Linked DNA regions of Homo sapiens: regions 2, 3, 4, 5, 6 and 7 are each linked to region 1. The links are contacts of gene promoters, found by promoter capture Hi-C in blood cells and fetal thymus (Javierre and others, 2016). All regions are on one chromosome and are shown on one strand. The core of a region is centred on a gene start or on the middle of the fragment in contact, and the rest is flanking DNA. Distances in the headings are between cores, read along the strand shown. Region 1 holds the start of STOM (stomatin). Region 2 overlaps MEGF9 (multiple EGF like domains 9). Region 3 overlaps MEGF9 (multiple EGF like domains 9). Region 4 has its middle 7.2 kb from the start of MEGF9. Region 5 has its middle 39 kb from the start of FBXW2. Region 6 overlaps FBXW2 (F-box and WD repeat domain containing 2). Region 7 overlaps FBXW2 (F-box and WD repeat domain containing 2).

What was found. Contacts are between HindIII fragments. The CHiCAGO score rates a contact against its expected background, and 5 or more counts as called.
Region 2: a fragment that was not itself captured here is called in contact with the fragment with the promoter of STOM in region 1 in 4 of 17 cell types (total CD8 T cells, naive CD4 T cells, neutrophils and 1 more); the score reaches 5.7 in total CD8 T cells.
Region 3: a contact is called between a fragment that was not itself captured here and the fragment with the promoter of STOM in region 1, in 3 of 17 cell types (activated CD4 T cells, neutrophils and naive CD4 T cells). The highest score is 5.8, in activated CD4 T cells.
Region 4: a fragment that was not itself captured here is called in contact with the fragment with the promoter of STOM in region 1 in 1 of 17 cell types (neutrophils); the score reaches 7.4 in neutrophils.
Region 5: a fragment that was not itself captured here is called in contact with the fragment with the promoter of STOM in region 1 in 10 of 17 cell types (total CD4 T cells, naive CD4 T cells, activated CD4 T cells and 7 more); the score reaches 11.9 in total CD4 T cells.
Region 6: a fragment that was not itself captured here is called in contact with the fragment with the promoter of STOM in region 1 in 2 of 17 cell types (naive B cells and naive CD4 T cells); the score reaches 5.2 in naive B cells.
Region 7: a contact is called between a fragment that was not itself captured here and the fragment with the promoter of STOM in region 1, in 1 of 17 cell types (non-activated CD4 T cells). The highest score is 6.3, in non-activated CD4 T cells.

The regions. Positions count from the first base shown.
Region 1 is chr9:121,368,607-121,371,754 of GRCh38, reverse strand. STOM (stomatin) reads left to right here and starts at 1,505. Exons shown (of 7, transcript NM_004099.6): 1 at 1,505-1,628. The coding sequence starts at 1,568. It overlaps LOC102723324 (a long non-coding RNA gene), which reads right to left and starts at 1,862. Exons shown (of 7, transcript NR_187160.1): 1 at 1,789-1,862. RefSeq lists enhancers at 991-1,080, 540-1,500. The HindIII fragment of the contact is 8,041 bases long and covers 1-3,148 here.
Region 2 is chr9:120,617,125-120,620,272 of GRCh38, reverse strand. The region is part of intron 3 of MEGF9 (multiple EGF like domains 9); the gene reads left to right. Among named protein-coding and RNA genes, the nearest start is that of CDK5RAP2, 39 kb to the right of the region's middle. The HindIII fragment of the contact is 2,561 bases long and covers 278-2,838 here.
Region 3 is chr9:120,702,425-120,705,572 of GRCh38, reverse strand. The region is part of intron 1 of MEGF9 (multiple EGF like domains 9); the gene reads left to right. Among named protein-coding and RNA genes, the nearest start is that of MEGF9, 10 kb to the left of the region's middle. The HindIII fragment of the contact is 2,993 bases long and covers 210-3,148 here.
Region 4 is chr9:120,720,115-120,723,262 of GRCh38, reverse strand. It overlaps the pseudogene AHCYP2. Among named protein-coding and RNA genes, the nearest start is that of MEGF9, 7.2 kb to the right of the region's middle. The HindIII fragment of the contact is 4,871 bases long and covers 1-3,148 here.
Region 5 is chr9:120,752,573-120,755,720 of GRCh38, reverse strand. No RefSeq gene overlaps it. Among named protein-coding and RNA genes, the nearest start is that of FBXW2, 39 kb to the left of the region's middle. The HindIII fragment of the contact is 3,828 bases long and covers 1-3,148 here.
Region 6 is chr9:120,769,168-120,772,315 of GRCh38, reverse strand. FBXW2 (F-box and WD repeat domain containing 2) reads left to right here. Exons shown (of 8, transcript NM_012164.4): 7 at 799-968. Among named protein-coding and RNA genes, the nearest start is that of FBXW2, 23 kb to the left of the region's middle. The HindIII fragment of the contact is 1,723 bases long and covers 748-2,470 here.
Region 7 is chr9:120,789,045-120,792,192 of GRCh38, reverse strand. The region is part of intron 2 of FBXW2 (F-box and WD repeat domain containing 2); the gene reads left to right. Among named protein-coding and RNA genes, the nearest start is that of FBXW2, 2.8 kb to the left of the region's middle. The HindIII fragment of the contact is 318 bases long and covers 1,317-1,634 here.

The DNA of each region.
Region 1 (3,148 bases), core at 256-2,755:
AAAACTACCGACCATGGACTGGCTCTGGCTAGTTTACACAGACTGCATACTTGCACACCTTCCTGTCCTGAAAAGACCTTTTGACGCATGGGGTCTAACTGTAATACATGTATTGTTATTATTTTTTAGAGTCCATCAGGCTGGAGTGCAGTGATCTGATCATACATCACTGCAGCCTCCAACTCTTGGGCTCAAGTGATCCTCCTGCCCCAGCCTCCTGACTAGTTGGGACCGCAAGCACACACCACCCCACCTGGCTATTTTTTTTTTACTTTTTGTAGAGATGGGGACGTCACCATGCAGGCCAGGCATTTAACATTTAATTGGTAACTCTTCACTCCAAAATGAACATGGGTTGTATGTTACATGCATGTTTGCTCAATGGGCATGCGTCAGGACCACCCTCATGAATATTCATAGCTCCTCCTGTCACCTGCTGAATATGCATGTCTACCCAAGCTGTTCAGCATAAAGCCGCTACTCCAACCCCTCCTCCAACGAAATGCCTGTCTCTGGTCCTGGCCATTCTCCAGCCTGCGGAATGGCCACCTTGCAGGCTGTAACCCCTTACAAGAAATAAAGTCTCCTCTCCTGTTTTTTTGTTTTTTGTTTTGTTTTTTTGAGACGGAGTCTCGCTCTGTCACCCAGGCCATCTCGGCTCACTGCAACCTCTGCCTCCCAAGTTCAAGCGATTCTCCTGCCTCAGCCTCCCAAGTAGCTGGGATTACAGGCGCGCGCCACACGCCCGGCTAATTTTTGTATTTTTAGCAGAGACGGGGTTTCACCATGTTGGCCAAGCTGGTCTCGAACTTCTAACCTCAGATGATCTACCCGCCTCGGCCTTCCAACGTGCTGGGATTACAGGCGTGAGCCACCGCGCCCGGCCTCCTCTCCTTTTCCAAATTTATACATTTTGATTTTCTTAACACACCTCACTCGAGTTCGTTCACTTCGGCTGCGGCGTGATCTGCCGGCCCTCTCAGCTCAGGCTGACCTCAGCGCCCTCACTTCGGCCACTTCTGTGTCCCTCAGTCTTCTCCCCTCAACTCGGACCTCGCGCCCTCATGACAGGGCGCCATTTTCTTCCCTCTAACTCCTCAGCCCAGAGGAGGCGCCTTGGTCCCGTACCTCTGCCCGGCAAGGCGACTTTTCTTCACTTGCACTTTTGCCTCGGGTCATCCTCTGCTGCTACCTCCCCACTATCCTCACCATCTGCTCCACGTCCCGTGGCTTCCGCCCTCCCTTCCGGTGCAGGGCCCCGGCCTCATACCCACAGCCTTGGGGGCTCTCGCCCCTCAGGCCACGCCCCTCAGGCCACGCCCCTCAGCCCACAGAACTAGCGGGAAGTGACTGCGAAGCAGTCGCGCCGTGGAGGGACAGGAGGGCGGGGATTGGGAGGTGGGTCCTCCTCGATCCTGGGCGTTGATTGGCCAACTCTCACGAGGGCGGGACCTCGATTGGGGGCGGGGCGGCAATCTGGGTCTTGTGCCTCTGGCTCCTCAGGGCATTCCCGGCGGCTCCGGGTTTGGCAACGAGGACGGGGGAGTGCGACTGCGTCTCGGGCAGCATGGCCGAGAAGCGGCACACACGGGACTCCGAAGCCCAGCGGCTCCCCGACTCCTTCAAGGGTGAGTCCCGCGTCCCCTGACCCTCCCCCGTGGACCGAGCCCCCGCCCGCAGCGTGCGCTCCGAGGTCTGACAGCCGGGCTCCTGGCCAGTCTCCGCTGCTTCGGGCTGGGCGAGATCTCAAAGCCGCGGCTCCTCCCTAGTAAACTGAGCATCACGAACCCTGTTTGGCAGACTGAGGTCACGATGGAGGGGTGGCGGGCTGCCAACGGCACGTTTCCCATCGCACGGGCCCTGGTTATCTCGCGGCCGCCAGATGCCAAGCCCCATGCCAGGGCTGCACTATCTCGTGTCACGCACGCGGACTAGGAAACGCAGAGGGAACTGGCAGCCAGCGAGGCGGGGACCGGGACCCCACATCTCACCCTTTGCCCACTCCCCTTCTTTCCCGACTCACTCTCTCGAAGGCCGCCTCCTCCACCCAGCCCTGGCCTGGCCCCAGGGTGAACCCCCTCCTCCCCCAATCCCACCTCCCGAAACTTAGACCGATTTGCAGAAGGAAGAAGTCTCTCTGGCTTTCTTCTTACCTCTCTTTCTAGCTCCACTTTCTGCCCCATTTTTCCCCCTCCGCTTTCCTCTGCGTTTTGGAGAACTCTCCTTCCCGGCTTTTGTTCCTCGCCAGGAACCCTGAGTTCTCCCACCCTCACCCCCACCCTCCCTTCCCAGTCTTCAAGGCAGGAGCTGTAAGTGGCTCAGTCTCGTTCCCCTGTGGAGGAACTGGTACTCTGGGGAGGGGGTTCCAATAAAGAGAGATGGTGGACCTCTCAGGAGTCCTGGTACCCACTCAGGAGCTCTTAGTGATCCAGAGGAATTACAGTGTTTCTAAAGATGGAATTTCAGGCAGGATGGCAGTGAAAGCAATTTAGAGGGCTGGGTGGTCCTTTCCAGGACCCCTCAAAGAACATGACATTGGAGTCATCTATTCTGATTATTTGTAAAGCCAGCTTTATCCACAGCATCTTAGCTATAAGTTCCATTTCCCTTGTCCAGGGATCCCTGTGTTCAGTTCCTTCCCAGGAGCATCAAAGGAATTACAGAAATCTTTATTCCTCACTTTTTGTCTACTAATAACGTTGCAGGTTATCTTCCCAAATGGAGAGTGTAACAGGGAGGAGTTGATGAGAATAATGGCAACCACAACAACAAAAATTGAAACTAAATAGGTCAGGCTCCGTATCACTTTTTTTTTTTTTTTTGAGACGGAGTTTCGCTTTTCTTGCCCAGGCTGGAGTGTGATCTCCGCTCACTGCAACCTCCGCCTCCCGAGTTCAAGTGATTCTCCTGCCTCATCCTCCCAAGTAGCTGGGATTACAGGCGTGCACCACCATGCCCAGCTGATTTTGTATTTTTTGTAGATACAGGGTTTCACCATGTTGGTCAGGCTGGTCTCAAACTCCTGACCTCAAGTGATCCACACGCCTCGGCCTCCCAAAGTGCTGGGATTACAGGCATGAGCCACCGCGACCCCCCCAGTGCCACGTATTTTATGTATATATTATTTTATTGAATCTTCACAACAGAT
Region 2 (3,148 bases), core at 309-2,808, 750 kb after region 1:
TACTCCCTAGATCTTTTACAGTACCGAAAAGCAGTCTACATTGCTGATTCTCAGTTTTAATTTTTCTTAAGGCAACGAGGCCACTGTCTTTACTGTCATGTAAGTGCTGACCTGTCCTTTCTCTGGAGATAATTTAAGGCAAAATAATTCTTTTCATGGTTATGGTTTCTAAAAGCAGCTAGTAGTGAGAGAAATAAATGGGTTCTTTGTTTGGAATTATAATAAAAGTGGAATCCAACGTGAAGGAGTGCAAATACTGTATTTAAAATTACAAGCTTTATATAAAACCACTCTCGTCAAGTGACTTTATTTTCAACAGTGCTGTGATAAGGTTGCCCTCTGGTGGCCACTTACTGTGTTTTCACAGTCCTATTTTCACCCCCTCTACTGTTTTGCTATACCTTGTGTTTTAGATTGAAGTAGATTTTCAAAGTACTCTTTTTTTGTGGTAAGATATATTTGGATAAACATTTTGGAAAGCAATTTGACAGTAAGTATTAGAAATCTTAAAAATTGTTCTTTGATCTGGTAGTTCTATTTCCAGGAATCTATTCTAAGGAAAGAATTCTAAATTCTTAAGAAGGTTATATTCAGAGATGCTCACCAAAATGGTAGTTACAATTTTAAAAAGTTAGGCAACCCAATTTCTCACAATAGGGTATTAAGTAAATACTGTTATCTAGGCAGTATATTATTAAAAACACAGAAAACCAAATGTTGACCTTACCTTGAGCAAGTTGCTTAATCTGTTTCTTCATCTATAAATTTGATATAATAGCAGTAACTGCCTAGTGGGTTGTCGTGAAGATTAAATGCAATACACTTGTACAGCCTTTATATAGTGCCTGGTCCATCACAAGTAATCAGTAAATGGTAACTGTTACTATGTTCTCGATAAAATGTTTTGTTTTGTTTTGTTTTTTCTGAAACAGAGTTTCACCCTTGTTGCCCAGGCTGGAGTATGGTGGCGCGATCTCGGCTCACTGCAACCTCCACCTCCTGGGTTCAAGCGATTCTCCTGCCTCAGCCTCCCAAGTAGCTGGGATTACAGGCGCCCACCACCACGCCCGGCTAATTTTTTGTATTTTTAGTAGAGACGGGGTTTTGCCATGTTGGGCAGGCTGGTCTCGAACTCCTGACCTCAGGTGATCCGCCTGCCTCGGCCTCCTAAAGTGGTGGGATTACAGATGTGAGCCACTGTGCCTGGCTGATAAAATGTTTTAAAGAATGATATATAGCAATATGAGAAAGTGAAAGAAGCAAGGTATAAAATAACTTATGCCATATAATTAGACTAGTTAAAAAACAAAAGCCAAACCCCTGTAAATGAGGAAAGATTACAAAGAGAAGTACTAAAAATCTTTTTTTTTTTTTTGAGACCGAGTCTTGCTCTGTCACCAGGCTGGAGTACATGGCACGATCTCGGCTCACTGCAACCTCTGGCTCCCGGGTTCAAGCGATTCTTCTGCTTCAGCCTCCCAAGTAGCTGGGATTACAGGCGCCCACCATCACACGCCCAGCTAATTTTTGTATTTTTAGTAGACACGGGGTTTCACCATGGTGGCCAGGCTGATCTTGAACTCCTGACATTAGGTGATCCACCCATCTCGGCCTCCCAAAGTCCTGGGATTACAGACTTGAGCCACGGAGCCCAGCCTAAAAATCTTAATGAGAGATTTCCTAGGATGATTTTTTACCCCTTTCTACTCCTGTATTTTTCTAGATTTTCTTTATTAAGCACGTTTCCCTTAAAATGGAAGTGGGGGGATATTATTTTTAAAACTGGAACTTCATGTTCATATAATATACTTCCTTTGAAAATCCAGTGTACCTTTATGTATTCATAGTGTCCCATGATGAGTAACTTGACCTGAGCAGCTTGACTGAGTTGACCAATCCTCTACTCCCCAATGATACTTACTTCAGAGTATCATGCTTTCCTAGTTTTTGTGCTACCTAACCAGCTTTTCCTTCTTATTTGTTCTACTACATCTTCCTCAGTTCAGCTCCAAGCACTGGAGTGCCTCAGGGCTCAGAGCTTGTCAAGTTTGTCTTTGCCATTTAAACTTTCTCCCTAAGTGGTCTCATTCAGTCCCCTGGATTTAATTTGTATTTGTTTGTTTGTTTTAGCTCATTTTCCCCCTTAACCCTGGATTTAATTTAAATGCCATCTATATATGTGCTTATTATCAGATTTGCATTTCTCCGTTGATCTCCACACTCAAATATCCAACTGTCAAATATCCACTTGTTTTAATTGGCATTATATACCTAACACATCCAAAACAACTTTTTTTTCAACTTATAAGTTAAGCCTGCTCTATTCATTTCACCAAGTTACTCAGTCCCAAAGCCTAGTAGTCATTTTTGATTTTGCTCCTTTTTATTACTGCAAATATCCAGCTCATCAGTATATTCCATCAGCCCTATCTTCAAAACATACCCTGAATCTGACCACTGTTCATGACTTTTATTGCATCATCCTTGCCCAAGCCACTGTCATCTCTTTGAACTACTTTGGCACAGTCTCATCTGGCCTTTCAGCCTCCTCTCTTCTCTCCCTATTCTCTGATCCCCACCCCACCACAGTTAGTCTCCACATAACAACCAGAGCAATCTTTTTAAAATGTAAAACCAGATCATGTCATTTTCATGCTTAAGCCCTCCAATGGCTTCTCATCCCTTTTGGAATAAATAAAATTCAAACATCTCTCTATGGCCTATCTGGTTTTACATTTTCTGGGCCCTGCCTTTCTCTCTGACCTTATGCCCTGTTACTCTCTCCCTTGTTAACCTGGGCTCCATACTGGCCTTCTTTCAGTTTGACAGGTTAAAGCTTGCCTTTTGTTCTATAAAGAGGGTAAGGCATTTCTTCCTACAACAAAGCACATTACTGTATTTCAGATAGGTTTATATATAAATGATGAAATGGTAAAATAAATAAAGGAATAAGGAAAGGTCTTTTTGCAGGTAACAATGTATGTTTTCAATGTTTTGTCCCTGAATTTGGCTGGAAAGGAGCCCTACATTCCTTTCTTTGACTATTTATTTTCTTGGTTATCTCTACAAAGATTTTTGAGATGCTTAGTCAAGGAGCATGAAAAAATCATCTTCAGGAAACATTCCTTTTTCTTTTGATCCACCCTTT
Region 3 (3,148 bases), core at 457-2,956, 670 kb after region 1:
TATTATTTTGTCTTCATTGAAAAAAAAAAAAACCTTTCTTCCATTCTCCTTGCTCATTTTTTTTCAATTTAAAGCCTTCTATGCGTTCCTCTCACTCATATCTTTTATTTTTAGCCCCAACCATTCTTTCCATGATCTTTAAGGAACCAAATTACCCTCTCTGTTTAACAATTTACCACTTTGTCCTCCTTCAGTGCTTCCTCAAAGCTTAATTCTTCCAAGACGTCTTTCTAGATGAACAAAAAGTCCTTAAAGATGTGTTAGTGTCAGCATGCATGGCGTTGAACAGTTTGCACTGAGAACAAAATCTGTCTTTCTCTGTGACTTTCACTTTTTTCCTATTGATTTGTTTTTGGTCTATGTAATTTAGATTATGAAGCCTTCTTAATATGAAAATGTCATCCTTTATACAATATTCAGAATGCGGTATTCTCTCTTTTTGAAAAAAAATGGAGAAAAGATTTTCTTTTTCCACTGGGGTCTTCTTTATTGTCCAACTTATGCCCCACCTACCCCCTGCCACCTTCTTCTGAGGAACAATAAAGAAAAAACTTTCATAATAGAAGTTATCTGGCTCTAAAAAAAAATCAAGAACTTTGAATAAGTAGCAAATTTATTTTCCTATTTATGAATAACATGACCTGTTTTTGTTGGTAGGTGGTTTTGAGATGCATACCAGTATATAATTAATTTCGTTAAGAAACAAATGTTTGATCTTTTGAATGACAGAATTTCCCCATTAGAAATATAATTAAAGTTAATAGTGAACAGAGTGCTTTTAATATTAGCAATTAACAAGTGTGCAGTGCATTATGGCTTACAAGGTGCTCTTAGAATGTCTAAGACCTTGCAATTCACATTTTGTTGATTTCTGCATATTATATGAATGAAAAAGGCTTATGTCCTCTGTACTTTTATTGGTGAATATTGATCAAACCTTTATAGGTTTTGTTGGGTTTCAGATTTGATATTTTGTATTTTAAACCATTGTCTTTTAAGTTTATTTTGTTAAGTGTAAATCTTGTCTTGTTTAGCTGCCCATATTTATATGATGAATAAATGGTATTTGGAGAAGAGGACTGTTTGCTTTATATTTTCTTTCCTAGACACTATACAGGGCTGAATGTTGTGGAAAGAGCCCAGAAGTAACTGAAAGTAAATGGTCATGGAGATAACAAGGTGAATCACAGAACTTGACTGTGAGGGCTCATGTGAATTTCATCTCTTTTTTTTTTTTTTGAGACACAGTCTCGCTCTGTCGCCCAGGCTGGGATGCAGTGGCGGATTCTCAGCTCACTGCAACCTCTGCCTCATAGGTTCTAGCAGTTCTCCTGCCTCAGCCTCCCGAGTAGCTGGGATTACAGGTGCCTGCCACCATGCCCAGCTAATTTTTATATTTTTAGAAGAGGTGGGGTTTTGCCATGTTGGCCAGGTTGGTCTTGAACTTCTGACCTCAAGTGATCCGCCCGCCTTGGCCTCCCAAAGTGCTGGGATTACAGGTGTGAGCCACCGCGCCCAACCTCAATTTCATTTCTTCGTATTGAAATATTTACTTCTTTCCTAGTGTAAGAATCTCTTTGGCATTATCTTTTTTTTTTTTGAGATAGAGTCTCACTCTGTCTCCCAGGCTGGAGTGCAGTGGTGCCATCTTGGCTCACTGCAACCTCTGCCTCTTAGGTTGAAGTGATTCTCCTGCCTCAGCCTCCCAAGTAGCTGGGATTACAGGCACCCACCACCACACCCAGCTAATTTTTGTATTTTCAGTAGAGACAGGGTTTCACCATATTGGTTAGGCTGGTCTCAACCTCCTGACCTTAGGTGATCCACCCGTCTCAGCCTCCCAAAGTGCTGGGATTACAGGCATGAGCCACTGCACCTGGCCCAGAATCTCTTTGGAATTATCTTAACCTGCTATTTCAGTTGTACTACTTCAAATCATTGTTTTAATAGCAAAGAGACTTACACTGTTACCTTTCATTTTTAATCTGATATTTAACACTTTGGCAGGGAAGGTAACTAATATTAACTGAGCACATATTATATGCCTGATTACCTATAAGGATTTTTTTACGTACATCGTGTCATTTAATTCTTAAACAATGCAGTAGTTAAATCTTATTAACCTTACTTTATGACTGGCAAACACTGGGATTCAGAAAGTTAAAGTAGTTTGCTCAAGCCTGTCAGGCTTACAGACTCCATGAGGGCAGGACTTCCATTTGTTTTGTTCACAGTTATACCTCTGCTGTCCAGCCCAGATAGATTCTTAATAAATATTTAGTGATTGAATTAGTGAAAAAGAAGGAACAGTTTGTAGGTATACTAGACATGCATTGTATTCTTGAGGAAAATAATGTAATCATGCCTTTCTTTTTAGTTTAGAAATCAATGTTTCTCTCACTCATAGTAATATGAGGAATAGTTTGAGAACCTGCTTAGGACAAGTGGAACTCCTTGAGATCCAGCTTATTATATTAATGATTCATTTTTTGTTTGTAACATTTTCCCTTGTATTTTTCTTAAAGGAAGAACAACAATGGACAAATGAACATTTGATGACTTTTGTAGAAAGGGTAGCTAAGTTGCAGAAGCTGAGCACTTGTCTGTAAGATGTGGGATCCTAAGTTCTTTCATTAGTTCTTTTACTAGTTATCTGTCTAGTAAAAGCAAGTAGTTTTATCTGTTAAATGAGTTAGACTAGATTTGTGATTTTTAAACAGTATTATTTGGGGACCCAGGGTTCCTCAGATGTGTTTGGGAGCCATTATAGGGACTGGAGAGGCCAACAGGTCTACTTCTGGACCTTTCACACCCAACTCTCACCTCTCACCTCCACATCACCACCCCCACTTACATCAGCTCTTCTTTCATTTGGCTTATATTTTGGATTTGTCCTTTCAGTAAAGATTTTTGAAAGAGGAATTCTCCTACTCTAACATTTTATGATAAAGAAATTTGGTAATTTATGAACTTACATTAAAATGTTTACATTATATTAAGCAGCAATATACATATGAGGAGAGAAATATACCAAAATATTAATTAGTTAAACCTAAGTAATGGGATTATGGGTAATTTTAATTACCTTCTTTGTGTTTTTCTGAATTTTTAAAGTTTTTTCGTGACTATATCCAATTCTAATTTTATA
Region 4 (3,148 bases), core at 337-2,836, 650 kb after region 1:
CCACAATTTTATAAGAATTTCCTTCATAAGTATCTTTTTTTTTTTTTTTTTTTTTTTTTTTTGAGACAGGGTCTCACTCTGTCACCCAGGCTGGAGTGCAGTGGCACCATCTCCACTCACTGCAACCTCCACCTCCCGGGTTTAAGTGATTCTTCCACCTCAGCCTCTAGAGTAGCTCAAACTACAGGTGCAACGACGATGCCAGGCAAATTTTTCTGTATTTTTGGTAGAGATGGGGTTTCACCATTTTGCCAGGCTGGTCTCGAACTCCTGAGCTCAAGCAATCCACCCGCCTGGGCCTCCCAAAGTGTCAGGATTATAGGCATGAGCCACTGTGCTTGAGTATCATCTTTTTTTTTTTTTTTTTTTTTCAGGCACCAAGATTTTTATTTACCCACCTTCCTGCTTTCTTTTAACATTAAAACCATATTATTCTCTTTTTGAACCAGGGTTGTGATAGGAACCATCTTGTTACAAAGTAGTAGCAGATCTATGCTTGCTTTTATGTTTTTATAGCCCCTCTGGCTGTCACTTCTCTGTCCTTTCTCAGTTATCCCTTTACAGTCTATTCTGACCCCTGTAAAACAGGGACTAAAAGTACCAACCTCATTGTTATGAGGTTTAAGAGAAGGCCCAGCCCTAAGCCAGGCTCTCAGGAAAATTCAAACAACAGTTCCTCTTTGCCTTTCAATATAGCTCCTTCTCATCTGTCATGGGCTGGGGAACCACTGAACCTGTAAACCACGGGTATAAGTCCACAGACCAGGAACACGGTATAAGTCCACAGACCAGGAACCTTACCTGAATGGTAAGGTACATGGGCTTTGTGACTCCACTACCAACTTCCAAACTAAGGAAGGACTGACTGGGCGCCAGTGGCTCATGCCTGTAATCCCAGCACTTTGGGAGGCCGAGGCATGAGGGCAAGAGATCGAGACCATCCTGGCCCACATGGTGAAACCCCGTCTCTACCAAAAATACCAAAAAAAAAAAAAAAAAAAAGGAAGGACTGACTTAGTGAGCAGTTCCAAGACCACTCAACTCATGGTTCCTTGTGGATGCCTCCCTTGTACCTCCATCATGACCAGGGCTTGAGGAGGGGCCTCTCAATTTCCCCGCCACACTTGATATAGTGTTAGGGATGCAGCAGAGGCCAAAAACTGAGTGACCAGCCCCATCGATGGGGGACACTAACCAACCAATCACAAAGTTGGTGCCATTTGCTCTTAGGGAGAAGAGGCGGGGCCTGAGCAAGGACAGCAGCTGGAAAGTGAAGGGCAGGCCTGACTCTCAGCAGCAGTAGTGATCCGGCTTGAAGGGGCCATCACGGGACGTGCTCAGCTACTGGGCTTGCTTCTCAGTTAGCTTGGTCAATTTCACGTTCATCTTGCCCAGGGGGGCGCCTCAGCCACTGCCTCATCCAGCTTCTTGGGCAGGAAGTGAACCCCAATGGGGTACTTGTCTGGGTGGGTCCACAGCGCAATCTGCACCATCACCTGGTTGAAGGAGTTACTCCCCACAAAGCTGGGGCGGCCCATAGCACAGCCCAGGTTGACCAGCCAACCCTCAGCCAGCACGATGATGTGGCACCCATTCTTCAGCCAGTACCAGTCCGCCTGGGCTTGATGTTTGCCTTCTCCACAGCATTGTTGTTGAGGCACCTGACATCGATCTCCACGTCAAATTGTTCAGTATTACATAAGATGGCATCATCCTTCATCTGCTCAAAGTGCCGGCCAAGGATGATATTGACACAGGTTGTGGTGGTGACAAAGATGTTGCCCTCCTGACAGGCCTCGTCCATGGTGGTCACCTCATAGCCTTCCATGGCAGCCTGCAGTGCACTGATGGGGTCAGTCTCGGTGATGATTATGCAGGCCCCAAAACCCTGCAAGGCCTGGGCACAGCCCTTGCCCACACCACCATAGCCTGCTACCACTGCTACCTTGCTGGCAATCATCACGTCTTGGTCCACTTGGTGCCATCTATAAGGGACTCCTGGCAGCCATAGAGGTTGTCAAATTTTGCTCTTGGTGACGGAGTCATTGACGTTGATGGTAGGCACCTTCAGGATTGCACTGGCCATCATCTTGTGTAGGTTGTGGACCCCGGTTTTGGTCTCCTCAGAGATGCCTCAGATGCCCGACATGAGCTGTGGGTACGTACTTGGTGTGGATGAGGTTGGTAAGGTCACCCCCATCATCCAGAATCATGTTGAGGGGCCCGTCCTTGAAGTACAGTGTCTGTTCAATGCACCACGGGTACCCCTCTTTCATTTTGCCCTTCCAGGTGAACACTGGCATGCCAGCCTCGGCAAAGACAGCCACTGCATGTTCCTGGGTGGAGAAGATGCTGCAGCTAGACCACTGCTCCTGAACACCCAGGGAGAAAAGGGTCTCAATGAGGATGGCCGTCTCCACAGTTATTTGCAGGCAGTCAGCAATGCAGGCACCCTTCAGTGGCCTGGAGGCCGAGTAAAGCTCCTGCATGCCCATCAAACCCGGCATCCATTCTCCACAATGTCTAGGGCCTTGTGTCCCCAGGTGGCCAGGCCGATGTCAGCAACTTTGTAGGGCAGTTTGTCAGACATGCTGGCGGCACCTTTGATGGACAAGGGCAAAGGGGGCTGGGCCATAGTCTGGGGACAGGCACTGGGTGGGCAGTGTTGGGCAGGCAGTGCTAGGCAGGTGAGTATCATTTTTTATAGATGTATAGTGTTTCTACATAGAAACATCATACAGCACAAAGTACTCAACTAATCCTTTGTTAACTGTTTAGATTTTTCTAATTTTTGTAATTATATAACACTCTGGTGAACATTTTTGTACATACATATTTACATCTGATTATTTATTTCCTTTGGATAGATTCTTTTTTTTTTCTCTTTTTGGGACAGGGTCTTACTCTGTTGCCCAGGCTGGAGTACAGTGGCATGATCATGGCTCACTGCAGCCTCGACTTCCCAAGCTCAGGTGATCTCCCACCTCAGCCTCCCAGGTAGCTGGGACTACAGCTGCATACCACCATGCTAATTTTTAGTAATTTTTTTTTTTTTTTTAGTAGAGACGGGGTTTCACCATGTTGCCCAGGCTGGTCTTGAACTCCTGGGCTCAAGTGATCTGCCCACCTAAGCCTCCCAAAGTGTTGG
Region 5 (3,148 bases), core at 242-2,741, 620 kb after region 1:
AAACTCCTGACCTCAGGTGATCCGCCCACCTCAGCCTCACAAAGTGCTGGGATTACAGGAGTGAGCCACCGCACCCAGCCTAAATGTGTTCTAATACTGTACTTGCCTTCTACTTTATTTCCAGTTATCATAGGGCATGTCATGCTAAGACATCAGTAGGCAGCAGAAGGAACTGTCAACAGAGTAAATAGACAATCTACAGAATGGGAGAAAATATTTGCAAACTATGTATCTGACAAAGGTCTAATATTCAGCATCTGTAAGGATCCTAAGCAAGTCTACAAGAAAAAAAAACCATTAAAAAGTGGGCAAAGGACATGAACACTTTTCAAAAGAAGACATGTGTGTGTCCAAAGAAAGCATATTTAAAAAAGCTCAATAACTGATCATTAGAGAAATGCAAATCAAAACCACAGTGAGATACCATCTCACACCAGTCAGAATAGCTATTAAAAAGTCAAAAAATAACATGGCCAGGTGCAGTGACTCAGGCCTGTAATCTCAGGACTCTAGGAGTCTGAGGCTGGTGGATTGCTTGAGCCCAGGAGTTTGACACCAGCCTGGGTAAGAGGGTGAAACCCCATCTCTACAGAAAATACAAAAATTAGCCAGACGTGGTGGCATGCGCCCATAGTCCCAGCCATTTGGGAGGCTAAGGTGGGAGAATTGCTTGAGCCAAGAAGGCATATGTTGCAGTGAGCCATGATTATGCTACTGCACTGCAGCCTGGGAGACAGAGCAGGACTCTGTCTCAAAAAAAAAAAAAAAAAAAAAAAAATTTTTTTTTGACCGGGCCTGGTGGCTTACGCCTATAATCCCAACACTTTGGGAGACAGAGGCAGGTGGATCACCTGAGGTCAGGAGTTTGACACCAGCCTGGCTAACATGGTGAAACTCCGTCTCTACTAAAAATACGAAAAAAAAATTAGCTGGGCATGGTAGCAGGTGCCTGTAATCCTCGTTACTTGGGAGGCTGAGTCAGGAGAATAGCTTGAACCTGGGAGGCAGAGGTTACAGTGAGCCGAGATCACGCCACTGCACTCTTGCCTGGGCAACACAGTGAGACTTTGTCGTATCAAAGAAAAAAAAGAATGAACTTTGGAGAGGTAGAGAAAAGGGAACACATATACACTGTTGGTGGGAGTGTAAATTAGTTCAACCATTGTGGAAAGCAGTGTGGTGATTCTTCAAAGAGCTTAAAAACCAGAACTGCCATTCAACCCAGGAATCCCACTACTGGGTATATGCCCAAAGGAATATAAATCGTTCTACCATAAAGATACATGCACGTCTGCTGGGTGTAGTGGCTCATGCCTGTAATCCCAGCATTTTGGGAGGCCGAGGCAGGTGGATCACCTGAGGTCAGGAGTTTAAGACCAGCATGGCCAACATGGTGAAACCCCATCTCTACTAAAAATACAAAAATTAGCCGGGCGTGGTGGCACGCACCTGTAGTCCCAGCTACTCGGGAGGCTGAGGCAGGAGAATCGCTTGAACCCAGGAGGCGGAGGTTGCAGTGAGCGGAGATTAAGCCACTGCACTCCAGCCTGGGCGACAGAGTGAGACTCCATCTCAAAAAAAAAAGAATGAGAAAAATATTTTCTATTTGCTTATTTTTGTATTTTCTAAGTTTCCCACAGTGAGCATGAGTTTTTGTTGTTGTTGTTTTTGTTTTTTGTTTTTTTTTTGAGACGGAGTCTTGCTCTGTCGCCCAGGCTGCAGTGTAGTGGCACGATCTTGGCTCACTGCAAACTCCGTCTCCTGGGTTCACGCCATTCTCCTGCCTTAGCCTCCTGAGTAGCTGGGACTACAGGCACCTGCCACTGCACCCGGCTAATTTTTTGTATTTTTAGTAGAGATGGGGTTTCACCGTGTTAGCTAGGATGGTGTCGATCTCCTGACCTCGTGATCTGCCCACCTCGGCCTCCCAAAGTGCTGGCATTACAGGCTTGAGCCACCGCGCCCGGCCGAGCATGAGTTTTTTTAAGAATAATTAATTTTTTTTTAGTTATATAATACAGCTGCAGGCATCTTTTAGCTCAAACTCCCTCTTTCAGGAAACACGTATGAGGTTTCTACTCTGTATCAGGCATCGTGCTGGAGCCTGGGGATATGTAGATTAATCGTGTATGGTCACTGTTTCTGGGAGCTCAGGTTCCCTAGGATAGTACACACACAAAACCCAAGAGGTGTCATGAAGGAAGCACCAAGAAGGAAGAAGTTCTACTTAAGGGTGATAACCAAGGTTCCATAGAGGAAGTAACTCTCCAAGAGATTTGTAAGCTAGTAGAAGGATTCTAGATACAGACTTTCTATAAACTGATACTCTTTGTTTGCTGGCTCTAGGTTGCTAACCTAGATGCATGGTTGGTGGAACTGTATCACTCATCGGGTCTTTATTAAATATAGGAACACAGAAGACACTGCTAGAACTTGAAGGCAAAAATCATTAAACAACTGAAAACACAAAATGAGCAGGTTGGTGGTGGTGCCAGCCTGGTTTTTAATCTCTTCAAATCCACACAAAGAACAGCAACTAGGCCAGGCGCGGTGGCTCACGCCTGTAATCCCAGCACTTTGGGAGGCCGAGGCGGGCGGATCACGAGGTCAGAAGATCAAGACCATCCTGGCTGACACGGTGAAACTCCGTCTCTACTAAAAATACAAAAAGTTAGCCGGGCATGGTGGTATGCGCCTGTAGTCCCAGCTACTCGGGAGGTTGAGGCAGAAGAATCGCTTGAACCCAGGAGGCGGAGTTTGGGAGGTTGCTGTGAGCTGAGATCATGCCACTGCACTCCAGCCTGGGCGTCTCTGTCTCAAACAAACAAACAAACAAACAAAAAACCCAGCAACTGAATAGCAAAACCAAGGGCCCAGACAGTACTTTCAACAAAGCTAGGTACAAGGTAACTTCATGAGCCCCAGAATACAGTAGTTGAGGCGAAATACCTATTGCCACAAGAACATTTTTGTAGGAGGAAAATGAAGGAAGGAAAAGAGATAGTATATGAGAGGCCTGAGAACAGGAGAATCCAAAATAGGCAACAGGTGATCAATGGAGAGTTGGGCTGCCAATCCTAAAATGTCAGCTGAAGCTGGGAGAGGCTCTCCAACAGTGGATGAGAACAAGGACCTAAGGCAAGAACGC
Region 6 (3,148 bases), core at 360-2,859, 600 kb after region 1:
TCACCATATTGGCCAGGCTGGTCTCGAACTCCTGACCTTGTGATCCGCCTGCCTTGACCTCCCAAAATGCTGGAATTACAGGCATGAGCCACCACGCCCGGCCCATTCTTAATACTTTTTTACATATCTCCTACCGTCCTTAATTCTTAGATCTGAACTATGAAAACATAAATATTTATTGTAATGAATTGCAAAGAGTTCACAAAGTACTCTCACATTCTTACTGCATCTCTTTTTTTTTTTTTTTTTTTTTTTCTGAGACAGGGTCTCACTCTGTCACCCAGGCTGGAGTGCAGTGGTAGAATCTTTGCTTACTGCAACCTCTGCCTCCCAGGTTCAAGTGATGCTCGTGCTTCAGCCTCCCAAGTAGCTGGGATTACAGGCGTGTGCTATCACGCCTGGCTAATTTTTGTATTTTTAGTAGAGACAGGGTTTCACCATGTTGGCCAGGCTGGTCTTGAACTCCTGACCTCAGGTGATCCACCTGCCTAGGCCTCCCAAAGTGCTGGGATTACAGGCGCGAGCCACCGTGCCTGGCCCATTATTGGATCTTTTATACTGTCCCGTGTGATAGGCATTATCTTCATTGCAGGAGCTGGAGTTAAGAGAGATTAAATAATTTACCCAAGATTGCACAGGAGAATTAAGACTTGAACCTGTGATTCTTGGCTATAAAACCTGGGGTCTTTCCAGTATACTTCACTTTCTATCTGACTTCACAAATGCAGACCATTTTAAGGACAAGCTTTTCTGTAGTGATGTGATCTCTCATCTTTCCTCATTTTCTTTTTTCTGTAGATTTGGCCAATTGGGAGAGAAATCAACTGTAAGTGCTTAAAGACATTGTCTGTCTCTGAGGATAGAAGTATCTGCCTGCAGCCAAGACTTCATTTTGATGGCAAATACATTGTCTGTAGTTCAGCACTTGGTCTCTACCAGTGGGACTTTGCCAGTTATGATATTCTCAGGTAATGTTTCCTTCGACCTCACGCTTTACCTTTGAAAGCCTGCTGCAGTTCAGTAGTAAAGACAAGACTAAATGTTTGGATGTACCAGTCAGTAGCTGGCTTTTAGGAAATGTATACTGTATCACTTGTAAACAGGGTTATATATACTGAACATCTCAGACAGGAAAAATATTTTAGAGGAAGTAAGCAAATGAAAAAGAGTTACGTACTGGAACGTCCGCTGCCTGACTGTGAGTCATGAGCCACTTCTTTCAGATTTAACATGCTTTTCTGGAAAATGAGGGGCATGGATGAAAAGATCTTTCAGATCTCCATAAGTTCTAATATTTTAAGTCCTATTTCATATTCTGTTGAAATTCTGCATTGTTTTACAAACTTGGTAAACTTTAGTGGTATCTAGGGATCAAGTGACCTTCTGTTGACTAGTAGAAAGACAGAGACTTAGAGAAAAATAAAATTTGCAGGGTTTCCCTCCAAAGAAGTAAATAAGCAGCAGTCCATAGACAAATAATTTTGTGATTCACTGCATACCATAGGCTCTTCTTGGAGAAGGACAGTATCTGTTAGCATATTTGGGGCTGATGGAAGCCAGTGCCATGTGGTCATTAAGAGAACTTTGGTGATAGACAAACCTTGGTTTAAGATGTGGTGCCATCTCTAATGGGCTGTGTGATTTAGTATAAGTTTCTTAACTCCTCTGTAGCTCAATTTCATCATCTATAAAGTGACTATTAAATGAAATGCTTGTGATGAGGACCTAGTATACCACCTGGCAGATCTTTATTAATAATAAGTCTGAGAGGACCCATGTAAAGAAACCTGTTTGAATTTGTTGAACCTACTGTACTTCACACCTGTTGTGCACACACTTATTAATAACAACTCAAAAAGTTAGCGTCCCATAGCATGGTTCAGGACTTGGAGGAGTACAGAAAATTGAACATTCTCTTCATTGTTTTTTTTTTTTTTTTTGAGATGGAGTCTCGCTCTGTCGCCCAGGCTGGAGTGCAGTGGCACAATCTCTGCTCACTGCAGGCTCCGCCTCCAGGGTTCACACCATTCTCCTGTCCCAGCCTCCCGAGTAGCTGGGACTACAGGCGCCCGCCACCATGCCCGGCTAATTTTTTGTATTTTTAGTAGAGACGGGGTTTCACTGTGCTAGGCAGGATGGACTCAATCTCCTGACCTCGTGATCCACCCGCCTCGGCCTCCCAAAGTGCTGGGATTACATGCGTGAGCCACCGCACCCGGCCTCTTCATTGTTTTTATGCATGACTATTTGAGGTCAGCTCGTGTGGATCTGATCACAATAACCACAAAACTTTGGTGGGCCACATCTCTCTGATCACAAAGTTACAACCCCATTTATGTCTTCCTGGAATCAGACCAACATTTCTAACCAGTTAGGTTTCAGAGCTGTCAGAATCAGTTATAGAAATGATTGATATTTATGCTTTGAGAAAAAAGACTGAAACCTTTCCTAGAAAACATCTGTTTAAGCTTTTCCTCTTGTAGGTAGGGAAACTGAAGCTGAGACAGGGTAGGGGCCTTGCCCAGCATTCCACCTCTCACTGTATTCCAACATTCGTCCATTCATGCATGGCTGGATTATCCAATAGGTATATACTTATGGTACTAGAAAGCCAGGGACACCAAAAACAGGGGAAAATAAAGTTTTGAAAGAATCTGATATTTTGTAAAGCAAAATATTCAAGTAATCACCATGGGAAAATCACATCTTTTATAGTTCAATATTGTTTTTGTTTTGAATTAAAATTTTAGGTGGGAAGGTGCAAAGGCAAGGTGGGCTAGAGATGTCATAGTTGTTTTAATGCTTAGCATCTCTAAAGGGTTTAATTTGGTCCCACATCTGCTTTCTCATGTATGCTTGTGACTCAGAGTGGCATATAGAGACTCTAGAGTCCTAGATGAAAGTTGCTAGTTTTTAGTGTTTGAATAATAGTTTTAAATAATAAACCTGTAAGATTGTTTGCGGGTAGGAGTTGCCAGGTTCAGATTTTTTCTCCGAAAAGAGTCTGTCTTGTGTCTGCTTTTTTCCTCCCAAACACAGATAAACCAACCTCTGTTGAAACCTACTACAAATCCTCTGGCTTCAGTTGCTAGGACCAGGTAGGGCTACTTAGCTTTGAAGCTAATTGAAAAGAAGCAAAGCACAAATA
Region 7 (3,148 bases), core at 226-2,725, 580 kb after region 1:
GGAGAATGGGTACTGGGCAAAATATTGAGCCTGCTACTTCCTGTGCCATTCTGGGAAGGCCACTCCACTTCTTGAGCCGTAAATTTCCTCATTAATGTTAGTTAAGGGCGGCATTACTGATACCTTCCATGAGGTTATGAAGATGAAATGAGATAATGTTTACCAGTGGTACTTTTTCTTTAAAACCAATATAAATATGTGAGTTGCCTAGGTAACATAGGGAGTTAATGGCAGAACCTGAGACCAAACCCAGGCTCTCATTTTCCAATTTAGGAGTCTTTTTGTTGCATGACCCACTTTGTGATTATTGATACTGAAGGCAAGAGGGCAAGTTGAATGTTAACTCTGGGGTAGGGACGTAGGGTAAGGGGGCCAAACAGCAGGGAATGTGGGTAGAATAAGGCACCTACTGGGAAACTAGAGCCTCCAATAAACAGGTGCTCTTCTTTATAAAATTAAACCCCTAGTAAGTTTGAGCCCTTGAGTTTTTCTTCCAGGTATTTTGAAGAGAAACTTAGTGATAAGATGATAGGGTCAAAAGAGATGTTAGTGGTCATGTCCATTCCACCCTTAGTGTCACAGAAATCTTTACTGCCAGGTGTTCATAGTAGTAAAACTAACAAAAAGTACCATTTGAGTTTTTACCCGCTAGACTGTACACTGTGCTAAGCATGTCCCTGCTATATTTCTGAGTTTCACCCTTCAAGTTGGATGATGGCTTCCATTTTACAGATGATAAAACTGAAGCTTAAAAGTTAGTTGGACATGCCCATAATCACATAGGAAGTGGCTGAATCAGTAAAACATCTGGCCAACCTCCAAAGTATTTTCATTTATCACATTCTGCCTCTGTGTCCAACTGTCCTTGACTGTTCGTGGTAATGGGAAACTCACTACTCTGGAGGTAGCTATTCCATTGTTGGAAAGCGCTGAGATTTAAAAGCTCCTCATGTTGAATTGAAATCCCATTTCCTGAGGTTTGTGCAACCAGTGTATGATATTTCTAGAGGCTGCCTAAAAGAGTCCAGTTTAGACCTGTTACCTTAGAAGGCCCCCTCCAAAGTTAGTTGATCTGTTCAGAAAAGTAAAAATTGGTGTTTTTTAAATAGTGCATTCTGCAGTTAGTGAGACTTGCTTTTTTAGGGAAAAAAATGCCTTTTTCAGAATAATCAGAGGTGAACTGCTCAATCTTACAAGGGATTGAGTGGTTTAAAAGGCAATCTAAGAGTTGGGAAAATTTTTTTTATTAAGAGTTAGGAGAATATATAAATCTGAGACATGGCTGAATTTTTTTAGATGTGCTCTCTGAAAAAGCTTCTTCCGTAATCTTTAGCGGTGTCATGGGCACATTAATTTGGCATTTTTTTTTTAAATTTAAGTTCTAGGGTACATGTGCACAACGTGCAGGTTTGTTACATAGGTATACATGTGAATTTGGCATATTATAGTATGTCTCTTAGATATTTGTGAATGATGGGAACCTGATAATATTTTAATGAGTATTCTAAATTTGCCTTGTAGCCGTTTGAATAACAGTTCAGCTCACTTAAATACAAGCATTTCTACAATAGATGTGTGTCAGCATGTGTATGTATGTGTGTATATATGTATGTGTAGATGTGATGGAGGAAGCTTGCCACACCACACTTTTCACTGTTAAAAATGTTTCAGGAGCAGGTGTGTGGTTTTTTTTCTTTTTTTTCTTTTTTGAGATGGAGTCTTGCTCTCTCGCCCCGGCTGGAGTGCAGTGGCGTGATCTCGGCTCACTGCAAGCTCCGCCTCCTGGGTTCACGCCATTCTCCTGCCTCAGCCTCCCGACTAGCTGGGACTACAGGCACCCACCACCATGCCAGGGGAATTTTTTGTATTTTTAGTAGAGATGGGGTTTCACTGTGTTAGCCAGGATGATCTCGATCTCCTGACCTCGTGATCCGGCCGAGCCCACCTCAGTCTCACAAAGTGCTGTGATTACAGGCGTGAGCCACTGTGCCCAGCCTGGTGTGTGTTTTTAATTGACCAGTATTAATTAACTAGCTATTGTGACAATATGCAGATGCCCACAGAAGATAATTGCTTTGTCTTGTTGCAAATTATTATTTTTTAGAAGTAGAGATTTTGAAGAAATGTTGTATAGATAAGAGGGTTGTTAGGATTTAGAGGAAGGAGGGGGCTTGTTATTGCGTGATAAGTCGATAAAACTTTTAGCCATCTGATTATTTTTTGTCAGCTAGGTAAATTTTTAATACAGATTAATAAATCTTCTCTAGCCCAAACTTTGGCTTGAAACGTATTATCTTGAAGTCTAGTCACAGTTCCAGAAATCAAAACTGTTAGCAGATGATGTGATTGCAAGGTTTGGTTGCTTCTACTAATAAATCAGATTGCTTATTTGTCTAAGAATGTTATTGCCAAATTTGATATTGGACACTTACAATTTTACTCACCTTACATTATCAAAGTTGAAAGATGAGATCTTGCTTTTTGTGTAGACCTGATCTAGGTGATATGTCTGGAAAGAAATTAACTTTCCTTTTTCACATTAATTTGGACATATGTTTTTAAAATTAATATGACAGTCTTGTGAGAAACTGAGTATTCAGAAGGAAAGTTTTTATTAAACCATGGAAATATTTAAATATATGGAAATAAAGAGAATAATAAATCCCTATGTACACATCACCCAGCATTAACATCTATCAACACATAGTCTTGAGAAAGATAGTTTTTACTGGTTATATTTTTTGTAATCTTTCATTAGTCTAATCCTCATTAAGAGTGAATTAACACCTGTTGACACTAATACAGGATACTTTAAAAAAAATTATTTGTTACAGTTAGCTCAGGAGCAATTTGTCATTCTCCTAAAGGAGAAAATGGTCTAACGGGTAGACACACTACCTCCAGATCTTACCACTTGGTCGTGGTTCTCCTGGTTGTCACTTATTTTAGAGAGAGAGCTTGGTACCTGATCTTGAGAGCACTGGCGTCCAGTCTGTTCTGTGGCTATTTAGTAGCCCTGTGAATATAGGCAAATCACATACCTTCTCTAACCTGTAGTTTCCTCATTTGCAAAGTGAAGATGATAATGTCTATTTTCTGGTGTTTTATAAACATCAGGATTATTAATTTGCTTTATTTGTGCAGGCCT